5 separate regions of the Homo sapiens genome follow, and regions 2, 3, 4 and 5 are each linked to region 1. The links are contacts of gene promoters, found by promoter capture Hi-C in blood cells and fetal thymus (Javierre and others, 2016). All regions are on one chromosome and are shown on one strand. Each heading gives the region's core, a stretch centred on a gene start or on the middle of the fragment in contact. The rest is flanking DNA. Distances are from core to core; before and after follow the strand shown.

Evidence for each region. The method cuts DNA at HindIII sites, captures the fragments that hold promoters and counts their contacts. A CHiCAGO score of 5 or more calls a contact.
Region 2: a contact is called between a fragment that was not itself captured here and the fragment with the promoter of DYRK1A in region 1, in 1 of 17 cell types (endothelial precursors). The highest score is 6.8, in endothelial precursors.
Region 3: a fragment that was not itself captured here is called in contact with the fragment with the promoter of DYRK1A in region 1 in 3 of 17 cell types (naive B cells, total CD4 T cells and total CD8 T cells); the score reaches 5.5 in naive B cells.
Region 4: a fragment that was not itself captured here is called in contact with the fragment with the promoter of DYRK1A in region 1 in 1 of 17 cell types (activated CD4 T cells); the score reaches 5.1 in activated CD4 T cells.
Region 5: a contact is called between a fragment that was not itself captured here and the fragment with the promoter of DYRK1A in region 1, in 6 of 17 cell types (total CD8 T cells, naive CD8 T cells, naive CD4 T cells and 3 more). The highest score is 7.3, in total CD8 T cells.

Annotation. Positions count from the first base shown.
Region 1 is chr21:37,365,403-37,368,127 of GRCh38, reverse strand. DYRK1A (dual specificity tyrosine phosphorylation regulated kinase 1A) reads right to left here and starts at 1,355. Exons shown (of 12, transcript NM_001347721.2): 1 at 500-1,355. RefSeq lists silencers at 1-132, 243-382, 623-702, 893-1,042, 1,623-1,932 and 1 more and enhancers at 45-969, 2,283-2,362, 1,894-2,725. The HindIII fragment of the contact is 3,979 bases long and covers 1-2,709 here.
Region 2 is chr21:37,166,906-37,169,630 of GRCh38, reverse strand. It overlaps TTC3 (tetratricopeptide repeat domain 3), which reads right to left. Exons shown (of 46, transcript NM_001330683.2): 34 at 2,011-2,076. Among named protein-coding and RNA genes, the nearest start is that of TTC3-AS1, 26 kb to the left of the region's middle. The HindIII fragment of the contact is 655 bases long and covers 992-1,646 here.
Region 3 is chr21:37,202,420-37,205,144 of GRCh38, reverse strand. TTC3 (tetratricopeptide repeat domain 3) reads right to left here. Exons shown (of 46, transcript NM_001330683.2): 46 at 2,038-2,725. Among named protein-coding and RNA genes, the nearest start is that of DSCR9, 4.7 kb to the left of the region's middle. The HindIII fragment of the contact is 4,696 bases long and covers 1-2,725 here.
Region 4 is chr21:37,509,940-37,512,664 of GRCh38, reverse strand. DYRK1A (dual specificity tyrosine phosphorylation regulated kinase 1A) reads right to left here. Exons shown (of 12, transcript NM_001347721.2): 12 at 1-754. The coding sequence ends at 134. Among named protein-coding and RNA genes, the nearest start is that of KCNJ6-AS1, 7.3 kb to the left of the region's middle. The HindIII fragment of the contact is 1,046 bases long and covers 805-1,850 here.
Region 5 is chr21:37,233,832-37,236,556 of GRCh38, reverse strand. The region is part of intron 3 of VPS26C (VPS26 endosomal protein sorting factor C); the gene reads left to right. Among named protein-coding and RNA genes, the nearest start is that of DSCR9, 27 kb to the right of the region's middle. The HindIII fragment of the contact is 3,584 bases long and covers 1-2,725 here.

The DNA.
Region 1 (2,725 bases), core at 106-2,605:
CCGGCGCCCGGCCCGGCCCGGCCCCGCCGTCCTCGCCCACCCGGCAGCCGGCCCCATTTTCTTAACCCGTGCATTGTCCTTGCGAATCACCCCGGCGGTTCCCACACTGGTGGGGACCGAGAGGAGGGACGAGGGAGGAGCTGGGGGAAGAGGATGAGGAGGAAGAGGAGGAGGAGGAGGAGGAAGACAACCTCCACCCCTTCGCTCGGGCGGCCAGTGAAGGTCTGGCGCTGTCTACGGCCCCCCAGGCCCCGGCTCCCGGGAGGCCGCGGCCCCCGCTCCCACCCTCCGCAACTTTCCCTCCGCTCGCGCCCGCCGCTCCTCCGGGACCCGGCCTGAGGCTCCCTCCCCCGGCGGCCGGCCCTGGGCCCGCGGCGCCTCCTCCTAAAATGGCAGGTCCCTCCCTCCGCCCGGCCGGCCTCGGCTCCGGCCCGGCTGCGGGCCGCCGGGGGAGCCGAGCGCCAGGCCGGGCGGGGCCGCGGCCGGGCCGGACACTCACCGGGACGATGGCGGGGCGCTCGCGCCGCTTCCTCCGGTGAGTCTCAGCCTCGGGCTCCCGCGCCGCGCTCCCGCCGCGGCCTCCGCAGCCAGCGCCGCCCCGGCAGCCTCTCTCCGCCCCCGGCGCTCCGGCTCCTGGCCGCGCCGCAGCCTGCTCAGTCTCTCCTCGGCTCGCGGTTCCAGCGGCGCCCGGGGCCGGGGAGGCGACAGCCCCCTCCCCGGCAAATACCGCAGTCCCCGGGCCCCGATTCCAGGCGGCGGGGCCGCACGGCCGGCCCGGCGCAGAGGGCGGCGTCGGCGAGGCCGGGCGCCGAGCGGCGGCTGCTGCCGGCGGCTTCTTCCCGAGGAGGATTTTGTAAATCTCACAAAATGGCGCGCGCTCCGAACCTGCGCAGCGAGAAGCGCCGGGGCCCGGGCGGCGGCGGCGGCTCCTCCGCCAGGAGAGCCCGAACCGCCCGCCCCCGAGTCCCCGCACAGACAGACAGACACTCGCACACACCCGCACACTCGCGCGCACAATCGCCCTCGCACACGCTCCCTCGCACACACACTCGCACTCACACCGGTCCCGCCTGCTCGCCGGCGGCGGCAGCGGCACCAACAGCAGCAGCAGGAACAGCAGCAGCAGAAGCGGCGGCGGCGGCGCCCGCACCCCCCGCTCGGGGTGTCCGCTCTCTGAGGCCGACCTGGGCCGCGATCAGCAGCAGCGACAGCAGCAGTCTCCCCGGATACCCCCGCCGCGGTTGCCGCCGCCACCCCCGCCTCACTCCAATGGGGCTTTTTATTATTATTCGGGCGGGAAGCGAAAGGGTTTAAAAAAAAACCAACCAACAAAATGGCGACGGACCGACCCGGTCGCTATAGCAACTGTCAATCAAAACGCAAAACCCCGGCTGACGTGCTGACGTCCTCCTCCCGCCCCCCAGCCCCGAGCCGGCGGGCGGGGCCTGTTGCTCAGGTAACGGCAGATTCCGTTCCCTCCTTTCCGTCTCCCCCTCTGTCCCCAGCCAACCACCCAACCCCCTCAGGTCACGTGAAGGATAAATTCGGAGCTCGGGTCCGCTACGAGTGTCAGAGGAGGGCGCGTGATTCGCCCGGGGGAGGGGAGAGGAGGGGGACGGCTAGGCCGAGGGAGGGTAGGGGCTGGGGAAGGGGGGGCGAGGCGGCGGCCAGGCCTGTGCGCGATCGCCCGCCGCCTCCCGGCCGCCCCGCCCCGCCCCGCGCCCGCGCCGACTGCGGCCCGGGGAGCGCGCGCGGCCTCCCGCGCCGCCGCCCCCGCAGCCCTAGCGCCCCGCGCTTCCGCGTCGGCGCCCGCAGCCCCGCCCGCGCCGGGGGGAGGGGCGGGCTGCCCCGGGCGGGGGAGGGGGAGGAGGAGGGGCGCCGCGGCCTTCGGGCGGGGACCCGGGAAGCCCACCCCGCGCGCCCGGGCCTGGAGGGCTCTCACCGCGGTCCGGGCGCCGCGCTCGCCTCTCTCCCCGGGAAGCGCGGCGGCCGCGACCGTCCGCGCGTGGAGCCGGTTCTTCGAAGGGCTGGCGGGCCTCCTAGCCGGAAAATGCCGGCGGAGGCCGTGGTGGGGGCGGGGAGGAGCCACCGCCGCGCCCCAGACATCGCAGGAATTCCGGACGCTGCGCCGGGCCCGGCGGCCCTGAGGCTGGCACCTGGCTCCGGTCGGGCCGCCCAGGTTTTGTGGCGCCCGAGACCAGCGTTGGGAAATTAGGCTGGAGCCATCATGAAAACTTTTTCAGGCAGTGCACGCTCGCCTGTGCCTGCCCATCTGCTTCCAACCTCTCCCCACCTTTCGGGGCGCAGCCTGCCTGCTCCATCGGAATGCCCTTTAGATGAATCCCCTTGTGCTGTTACTGTGTCCTTGTCGTCCAGCTCTCTGGTTTTCTTTTCTATACACCTTCTCGGTTTCCAGAGTCTTAATTCGCCTGCTTGTCCTTAACCATCAAAACTCTTTATTAATATCCTGGCTTTCGCTGATTTTTATTCTCCCTACCCCTTCTCCCTAGCTATGTATTGCTGGGTGAGCTCCCGAGGCTTGAAAACCCAAGTATGCTGTGCTGGCTGCGTTGTAATCGGTAGAGAGCCACCAGCTAAAAATTGTATTTTGTACCAACTCTAATGGCATTTAATAAATGTATACCTAAAAAGAGTGTGTGTGTATATATATACTATTTTACAGCAGAGTCACTAATTGATTTCTAAGCTTGATTTTGCCACCTTG
Region 2 (2,725 bases), core at 70-2,569, 200 kb after region 1:
GATCCACCCACCTCAGCCTCCCAAAGTGCTGGGATTACAGGCATGAGCCACCACACCCAGCCAATCTACCATCTTGATTGACTGACTGAGATGGAGTCTCACTCTGTCGCCCAGGCTGGAGTACACTGGCGTGATCTTGGCTCACTGCAACCTCCGCCTCCCAGGTTCAAGCAATTCTCCTACCTCAGCCTCCCAAGTAGCTGGGATTACAGGTAAGCTACCACACCTGGCTAATTTTTGTATTTTTAGTAGAGACGGGGTTTCAACATGTTGGCCAGGCACTCTCATATTAATGGTCTATGTATGTGGTAATATAGATAGATTTATATTGTGTTTTGATATTTAGTTGCACAACTCCTTTTCTTAGTTTCTCTTCCATACCCATTCTTGATGTTCATTTTTACATATGAAGTTTAAAATCAATTTGTCTAGTTTCAAATTAATCCTGTGCAGTAACCAGGCCTCTTGTTAGTCACAGCCTTGTATAGACCTCTCCTACCATGTATCAGGGTTGGTGGATTGATCTATGTGACCAAGAGAATGCGCAGAAGTGATAATTTGTGACTTCCTAAAGCACTGCCGCTTCTGCCTGGTATCACACACTCTGGGAAAAGCCAGCCCCATGAGGTCAAGCAGGGCTAGGTGGAGGTCCACAAGGCAAGGAACTGAAGCTTCCTGACAACTGCCAACATCCGCTTGCCAGCCATGTGAGTGAGCTATCTTGGAAGTAGAACCTCTGGGCCCAGTTACTCCCGCAGATGACCAAGCCCTGGTCAACATCTTGGCTAGCTACATGAGAATCTCCAGAAGCATCCAACTAAACTGCTCCTGAATGCCTGACTTAGCGAAATTGTGAGATTTCACAATTGTGAAATATTTTACTGTTTTAAGCCACTAGCTTTTGAGGTTGTTTGTTATATATACAGCAATATACATAACTAATTTGCCCTGTTCATGTATATACTGGGATTGTGTTAAATTTTAAAAAGCTTTAGGGAGAACCAATCTCATTATCATAATATGTGTTCTTATCCAAGTACATGAAATATCTTTTCATTTAAGGCTTCTATGTGTCTCTCCATAGCATTTAAAAATTTTTCTTTATATACATTTAAGTATTTTATCTCTTTTTTGGTATTGAAAATATTTTCTTTCAACATACTTTCTAACAGGTAATTGTTTATATATATTTTTATATACAAGTATAGGTTTATATAGGTTAGTGTAGGTTTTCAGTTGATCATTTTGGATTTTCCTGGTACACAGCCCTAGCCTCTGTAAATAATGATACTCACATCTCCTCTTTTCTATCTTCTTTCTTTCTCATATCTGCTTTCTCAGTTAATATACCCAGGATAACAATAAATATTAATGGTGATGTTTTACCATTAAGCAAGATGATGGCTTTTGGCTTAAAATATTAGCATGTTGAGAAATATTCATCAATTCCCATTTTCTTACTAGTTTTGGTCAAGACAGTGACCTGAATTTTATCCAATACCTTTACAGCAACTTTGAGTTGATAAGACAACTTTTCTCTTATGATGCATATTAACGAACTAAATTATATTAGTAGGTTTTCTAATTGAATCATTATTATAGTAGAGAAGGTCTTTATCTTTCTGTATTATTCGCATGAATAAGCTTACTTATAAATTATTATATGCTCATTATACCAGTTAAAACAATAAAGCTGGCCAGCCTGGATGACAGTGAGACCGTGTCTCAAAAATAATTAAAATAAAAATAAATAAAATTTTAAAAATAATAAAATAAAACAATAACGCTGTTATAATTTGAAATAAGTATGCTGGAAAAAAATTACCTTTTCCTTCCCTTCTCAAATTTCAACAATAAAAACAAAATCATTTTTTTGTTATGTTCTCAAGCTTATTCCATGATAACTTTGTGTGGAATAAGCTGACTCCAAAATAGTTCTAGTTCATCATTCCATCTAGATAAATTAATGAAAACTAAACCTTTAAACAGTTTAATGTAATTTTGACTCACTTGTCGTTCCTCAAAAGGATTATATGGCTCAGTATTGACTTCTTGGTGTATTATGTTCCAAGATACCTGTGGGCAAAACAAAAAATAAAATTCACTTTATCTCAATCGCTCTAGTAAAATAAGCCCATCAAGTAGTAACACTTTAAAACACACCCACAATTTTTTCAAGTTTTTTTTCCCATTTAGATCATGTTCCATGCTTTCCGTAAACATGTATATTAGGAAAGTTATTTAGAATTAGCATATCTGGAAATGATTATGATCCATTGCTCTTAACCTATTTTTTTCAAAGCTTCCTAGAAAACATAATGAGTGGGGCAATTCAATAAGGATTTAATGAATTCATACCCTATAAAGGCAACCATAGGAGAATCTTGATTTCATCTCTTCCTTGTTAGGAAAGAACTCATACACATCCCTCTTGTTTCTACCTGGCTGTCTCTTTTTAACATTCTCATTCCTCCCCTGGTTTGACAGGAGAAGCTGGGCCTGTGTAGGTCAGAGTCTTCCTTTTTCCTTCTCTTTCTGAGGAGCTGCCAGCACATTTTCCCTTCCTCCTTCATGCGCTAAGTCCTATGGGGCAGGCACCCCACGCTGGAAGGCCTCCAGGTGGGCCCTCCTGTAACTGGCAGGTAAGGCACTGTGATGCAGGCTACACTTCCAGCTAGCACTTGAACTTTCCTACAAACAGCCACCTTCTCCTCCAGCACCTTTA
Region 3 (2,725 bases), core at 160-2,659, 160 kb after region 1:
ACCACAGGGCCCTGATCCTCAACCCAAACTGGATAGGAAAGGTTGACTCAAAGCTGCTCAGTCCGATAATTTGGGAAAGCCAAAAGGTGAAATGATCCATTGCTATAGAATCACAATATTCCTGAAGTCAATTCAGGGAGATCTCAGGAACAAAGCTGTTATTTTCCAAAACGACTTTGAGGTGATCTGATTTCTTCTTGCTCTTTTCACCACTGGATCGTGTTCCAATCCAGGCCACACTGAGGAAGTGGACTTCCTAACTAACGGCGGCTTTCCTACTGTACTATCCTACTCTTTCTTGTGCAATTTCCAGGCCCTTAATCTTAGTGACAGTTAGTTGTTAGCTCCGGTTATCACGAGTTTGTGTGCAGGCACTGTGCTGAGCACTTCACCAGGAATTTACTCATCTGTATACCCTCCCAGCTTCTCCTTCTGATACCTTCTTTCTTTCTGAGGTCATACTGCAGATGCTTTTTGGTCCTCATTCTGACCAACCATCCTATCACTTTACGGCCTCTGCTTTTTCAGCCTCCTGAGTAAGTACCTCAGGCTGACAGAAGGAACTTCCATCTTTGCTATTGTGTCTTCTACTGTTTCCTTTAATTCCCTTCTCCAGTCATCTGACTAAAAAACTACTCTAAAATAGTTTTACTGCTTCAGTTTGTGGTGTGTTGAGCACTTTGACCACCTGCTGCGACTGCACACACACACACACACACACATCCTTTATCCGTGGGAGATATGTTCCAAGACCTCCAGTGGATGCCTGAAACCACAGAAAATTCCAATCCCCACATATGCAATGTTTTCTCCTATACATATGTATCTATGATGAAGTTTAATTTATAAATTAGGCACAGTAAGAAATGAACAACTAGAACTAGTAATAAAATAGAACAATTACACTGTAGTAAAGATTATGTGAGTGTGGTCTCTCCCCCTTAAAATATCTTATTGTACTGCACTGTACTTGCCTATTTTCAGACCACGGCTGACCGTGGGTAACAAACTGTGGAAATCAAAATCACGAATAAGTGGGGGCACTTCTGTAGTCTTTGAGATTACCTTAAAACCGTAGTAACATTTTGCATTGCTGGGGCACCACTTCAATTTTATACCAGGCTATCCATTATTCATAACATAGATTAAGCAGTTCAGCAGGGAAAACTAATCTAAAATCTTTTTTTTTTTTTTTTTTTTTTGAGACGGAGTCTCGCTCTGTCACCCAGGCTGGAGTGCAGTGGTGCGATCTCGGCTCACTGCAAGCTCCGCCTCCCGGATTCACGCCATTCTCCTGCCTCAGCTTCCCAAGTAGCTGGGACTACAGGCACACACCACGATGCCCGGCTAGTTTTTTGTATTTAGTAGAGACGGGGTTTCACTGTGTTAGCCAGGATGATCTCAATCTCCTGACCTCGTGATCCGCCCACCTCGGCCTCCCAAAGTGCTGGGATTACAGGCGTTAGCCACCGCGGCCGGCCTAAATTCTTAAGGAATAGTCATTGCTTTAAATTAAATTAAATGCCATCAGACTAAAAATACGTACTGATAATACTTTGAATACACTTGAAAAAACAGAAGACAGATTTTGAAAATGAGCTTTCTTCAAATGAGCTTTCACTCTGTGAGTGCTCAGCATACCCAGAAGCCCCTCTATAGAGGAAACCCCATCGACAGCCTCAGTGGCCCATAAATCCACAAATGCCTCAAAAAATATACCAAGGAATGCAATTTATCTTCAACATCCTTATATGTATTCACATGAAAAATCTCTTAATTTAGCCTTAAGAAGTAAACTCTATCATCTCTGTGTGAACTCCTATAGTCGATCTTACGCAGGCACAAAGGAAAATTCTGACCCAGGCCCTAAAACGCCCTGAGATCCCTGGTCAGACTCCTCAGACACAGCATGGCGTGGCTGTTCTTTCCTGACGAAAGCACTCTTAAAATGTTAGCATGACATACATGTCCTAAGTTTTCCAGAAGAATGCATTTTTAAACTTCTCTAAGAAAGAATGGACAAGAGTGACAGTGAACTTCTCATTTTAGAATGTTCTTTATTCTGACAGTTGTTGGACAAATATAAGGCATGTTCACAAGTATCTGAAGTTATGTACAAAACACACTCATTCAACGGATGTTCCTCTTCTCCTTTTGTACTTGCTGCTGCAAACTGATCCTCATGCACGTTAACACCCATAGCGCTCAATTCTTATGGATATGCAGACAGTGTTTTGGGGACCACCGTGGAGAATCTGTTTCAAACTAAGGCGTGAGCTTCTAAGAACTAAGTCACTAAGACATCAGAACTCACAGTGAACAAAGGCAGAGGAAGGTGACCAAATCAGCTCATAAACTCATGACTCTAAGTTTCCAGTGGAACAAAGAACACATTGAAAAACATTTTTTGATCCTTCATGTTGGAGAGAAATGGAATGTGACCAGAATTCATGGTTCTATATTTACCACTGTCTAAAAGTCACAAAACAATATCTAATTTTTTCATGGTTTCTAATGCAGTTACAGTTTTGTTCTTAGGTCACAGTACAAGACTGCATGCATACTTTACACAAATATCAAACACAGAACGATTGTAACACAGATACCTCAGGGTTGTCTAAAGACACAGCTTCTCTTTTTGTGGTGGGGTGGGGAAGGAGAATGGTGGTGGCCATTTCCACACACAGCCTGTTGTGTGCTCAGCACGGCTGGATGCGGATCCCAA
Region 4 (2,725 bases), core at 78-2,577, 140 kb before region 1:
ATCAGCTTTGCCCTCTTGTAGCGGTTCAGTGTGTTAATCTCCTCCTGATTCAAGCAGCTTTGCACTTTGTTTTTGGAAAAAAAACACCACTTCTATAAAAACACACAAGAAACAAACTCAAGTTTCAATGTAGTCACGAGCTAGCTACAGGACTCTGTTGCACACAAACTCCTGTCATGGGGGACTCTTCTCTATCAGCCCCTTGCCTCATTGTCAGATGTCCTTCAGTCATGTAATGTGCAGGACCTGTATTAGCAGAAAATTGGTATGTTGGATGTCCAGCTATGCCAGTCTCTTGGCGGGGATTGGAGTAGACGGTCAAATTAACGTCCATAGCTCCATTCTGTCCAAAGTCCAAGGTATTAGCAGCCACTGGGCGATTCTGGTAGGCCTGATTGCCTTGGTTACCAGTAGAGGAGGAAGATGTCGAGGAAGAAGTCGTTGAGGAAGACAGGGATGTCATGGAGTGGTGACTGTGGCCAACCTCCATAGAATCTTGGGTAGAGGAGCTATTCGTTGGAGAATTGTAGACCCTTGGCCTGGTCCGGTTACCCAAGGCTTGTTGTCCATGGTGGTGGTGATGGTGGTGGTGGTGGTGATGGTGATGGGAACTGTTACCATGGTGATGATGCAATGCATTCTGTTGAGGGGCTACATGAAAGGTTGTTTCTTGAACAGGATGAGTTTCAACAGTGACCTGTGTAGGAGCTTCAGTGCCTGACCAACCAAGAGGAGCAGGAAATTGCTGACGCACCTGAAAGAACAGATTTTTAAAAGGATTTTTCAGAGGACTGTTTCCAAGCTTTAATCTTCCATCAAAAGCCATGACACTAACAAACTAGCATCATATTAATCAGGGGGAAACGGTTTTTGAAACTTTTAATGTGTTAAGACAGTTTTATAACACAAAATCCCAAATACATTCAAGGGCAAAAAATTTCATCATGAAAGCTGCAATTTTTAGGAAGTTATATCCTTAAATAGGTTCATCTATTTCACTAGCCACTGTCCTTCCTTGGGAGCCCTGTTTATGCCAGGGGTCAGCAAATATTTCCTGAAAAGGGCTGGACAGTATTCTGGGCAGGTCCAAAAGGAAGTCTTTACTTTTCCCTCATGTCCTTCCTCTCTCCATCTTTCTTCTTTCAATAAAGGACTACTATCTACCTAGCTGCTCAACAATGCCTCTGTCCAACCCATGAGCAAGAACTTATGAGTCTACCTGTGAAACAGATTCCAAATTTGGCCTCTTCTCTTCATCCCCATCATCTCTTGCCTACGCTAACACAACAGCCCCTTAAATGAACTCCTTGTTTCCATCCTTGCCCTTCTCCAAAGGGTAGCAGGAACAATCTTTTCTTAACACAAATCCAATCACTTCCCTATTTAAAATCCTTTAATGACTTCTCACTGCACTTAGAAAAACAAAATAAACCCAAATGGATACAACGATCTGCATCATCTGGCCAATGCCCACTTCTCTAACCTCTTTCTCCACCCATCCTATCCCTGGCTACCTGAGTTCCAAACAAAGAAGACCTGCCTTCCATTCCTCCCCTGGGTCAAAATCTCTCAAATGCCTCAGTGTACTAGTAACACGCTGCTCCCTTCTGCCTAGAAATGTTATTTCTTGGATTTTCTTATTGCTTGGATGTCTCTTTTTCATCGCTTCAGTTCCAGAGCCTTCCCTGACCACTCTGGCTGATGCTGCCTCAACAACTGTGGCAGAAGCTACTGGTTGTGCACAATATTCTTCTCGTTCCTGAGCACATGGCTACACAACACTTCCCAGCCTCCCTTGTACTTACTGATGGCCATATGTCTAAGCTGTCAATGGAATGTGAATGAAAGCTTGTGTCACTGCTAGCCTGGCACACAAGATAATACCTCCCAAGTCCTTCTGCCTGCTGGACACAGTAGACAAGTAGGCCCTAGGGCAAGGTGGAACCACAAGATGGTAGGAGATCAGGACCTGGAAGACGGCCTAGCCACTAACCTGAACACCTATTCTGGACTGTTGCACAAAAATGAAGGAAACTTGGTACTCTTTAAGCTACCATATTTTGGGGGTCTGTTATATCAGAGTTTGGCCTATTCTAATTAATACATCCTATCCAACAAACAGTCTTTCTCTACCAAATTATCCTTATTTTCTTTTTAACAGCTAATGCTACTTGCCATTTTTCTTCATGTTCATTTTATTTACTTGTGTCACTGTAAGCTCTAGGAAGGCAAAAGGCTCAGTCTCTATCCAGTGGCTGGCACAAATTGTTAAGGGTTTATTCAACAAAGGTGGTCTGAGAACCAAACTTTTAAGAGATACTACTGAAAACAATCAGTAGAAAAGCTGGCAGTGAGTTCTCAGAAAATACTATATGGTTTTTATATGAAGTTAATCAAGTTACTGGATTAGAAAATCACATGGGGGGCAATCTGGCAATAGTTATCAAAATTATAAATCACATTACCCTTTGAAACAGTCATTCTGCTTTCAGGAATTTATATCACAGATAAAATGTCTATGTGTGAATGAGACATGTACAGTGGTGCCTCCTTATCCACAAGAGATACAGTCCAAGATCCCCACTGGATGCCTGAAACTGCAGAGGACTAAACCCTCTATATACTATGTTTTTTGATCTGATAATCTAGATGGCTACAAAGCAAAGTAACTTATCTACTGTGTGGACATGCTAGACGAAGGGATGAGTCATGCCCAGGGTGGGAC
Region 5 (2,725 bases), core at 161-2,660, 130 kb after region 1:
GCGCATCTCCAAAAACTAAGGACGTTTGTCTCTATAATTACAGTTAACATTTGCACACCTATCAGAATTTGTAAAAATTCTCAAGTATTGATTAATTCTTGATTCATATCAAAATTTGTCGTCTTTTGAGAAAATAAATTTAAGAGAAACTAAGATTATGTTTTTTTAAATCTGTCATCATCCATCCATCCATTCATTCATTCATGCCATTATTTGGCAGGTCTTTTTCTTACAGTTTTATAGTAGAGCAAGTGCCGCCCAGAGACGGCAGTGACTTCCTGTGGTCACACAGGCCAGCCTCAGCCTGCGGGTCCAGACCAGCACTCCTCGGCCCGCACTGTTTACCGCACTTACTCTAAAGGTTAACATAGGCACATTTCTTTGGATAGAAACTTTTGTTGCTAAACCCTAATATCATCTTTCTTAAATTATGTGCCAAGAAATTTTTCATTCATAAATTGAATTGTGTTGTAACAATCTAAAACGGTAAAAATCATAAATCAGAATAAAGGATTTAAAAGATAGACGTGCTGGGTGCAGCGGCATGCACCTGTAAACCCAGCCACTTGGGAGGCTGAGGTAGGAGAATCACTTGAGCCCAGAAGTTCAAGTCCAGCCTGGGCAACATAGCAATACCTCATCTCTTAAGAAAAAAATTTTTTAATTAAAAAAAAAAATATATATATATATATATATATATATATACACACACATATACACACATATATATGTATATGTATCAAATGCCAGTATTATATTCCTGACTTCCAGAGGCTTGGCTTTCTTGTCATTTTTTAGATGAAGAGCTTGACATTCTTCTCAGTCATGTTGCGTTCATGTTTGTCTTTGTTACTAGATACTTCATATGATCATCAGAGTCTTCCGTAGTTGCCCTTTGTGCATCTACTTCTTCTTTTTACAATAATTTAAATTGTAGGCAAGTTTTATTAGGTTTGTTCTACTCTTGCTTTACTCTTGTAGCTGTGCTAGCAAGCGTTTATCCTATCACATAAAACATGTCTGCTGAAATTGTATATTCAGCACTCATTTCTAGAGATCCTAGTCATCCCTTTTCAAAGTTAAAAATTCCTTTTATAGGAATCTACTTTAAAACTATGGACAGGGCTGGGCACCGTGGCTCACGCCTGTAATCCCAGCAGTTTGGGAGGCGGAGGTGGGCAGATCACCTAAGGTCAGGAGTTCGAGACCAGCCTGGCCAACATGGTGAAACCCCGTATCTACTAAAAATACAAAAATTAGGCCAGGCACGGTGGCTCACACCTGTAATCCCAGCACTTTGGAAGGCCAAGGCATGTGGATCACCTGAGGTCAAGACCAGCCTGACTAACATGGTGAAACCCCATCTCTACTAAAATACAAAAATTAGCCGGGCATGGTGGTGGATGCCTGTAATCTCAGCTACTCGGGAGGCTGAGGCAGGAGAATTGCTTGAACCCAGGAGGCAGAGTTTGCAGTGAGCCGAGATCACGCCATCGCACTCCAGCCTGAGCAACAAGAGTGAAACTCCATCTCAAAAAAAAAAAAATTAGCCAGCCATGGTGGCGCGGCCCCTGTAATTCCAGATACTCAGGAGGCTGAGGCAAGAGAATCACTTGAAACCAGGAGGTGGAGGTTGCAGTGAACCGAGATCACGCCACCGCACTTCAGCCTGGGTGACAGAGTGAGACTCCGTATTAAAAAACAAAAAAAGAATATATATATTGTATATATATTCTACATAAAGATCCTTGCAGACAAGGATGATTCTTTTAAACAATGTTTTACTCTCCCAGTAGTACCTTAAATATATATAGTAACTTCTTATTTCATGCGGACAGGTTGTTCATACGAATATTAGCTTCTTGGAAGATTCAGTTATGCATAGAGTCCGAGTTATGAAAATTATTTTTGACATAATTCTGAAGTTTTTCCTGGACGATTAAAACAACAACTAACTTTATTAAACGTGGATTATGTGATTTTTTTTTAAAGACTGGCATTACAACAGTGGTCCTGCTGTAGAATTACATTTTTAAATAGTCTCTCAGCTCACGGACAGGGATTTGAAGCAACAGTCTCCGTTCAAAGCCTGCTTTAAGCTCAATACCAGCTCTGCAGTGGGGCTCCCCTTGGGGGAATAGAGCTCACCTTGCAGTAGGCACCATGGTAGCAACCAGCTCAGAAAACTAACCTAGGGACAGCAGAGAAATGGAATGCGGCTCTGCCACATTAAAAAAGCAAGTGTGCAAGTGCGATGCTACATTGTTTTCCAACCCACTTTTTCTTTGAGGTGCAGGCTACATCTGTGTGTTGGCAGATGGAGAGAGACCTCAGATGTCTCGAGAAATAAGATTAGCCATGAGTTGACCCTTGTGGAAGTTGGTTGATGGATGTGTGGGTTACTGCATATTCAGTAAACTAGAAGTTCCCTGAGGACCAGGTGTGACCTTGAGCTTGGCTCTGGTGCCCAGGGCAGTGCTATGCACTCAGAGCAGGTGCCCAGCGAGGAAGGGTTGTGACATGCTGGGTGCTGTCCCAGGGTTGCAGTCCTCACTGCATGGATTTTCTAATCCCGCTTACAAAGTAGCTGCTGTTTTCCAGCATTGCTTTGTGCCAGCCCTGTGCTGAGTGCTTGTCACACATGATCTCATTGGAGTCTCGCTGCAGGTGGGTCTTAAGAGCCCCATTCTACAGAAGGGAAGCAGAAGCTCAGACAAGTTGTGTT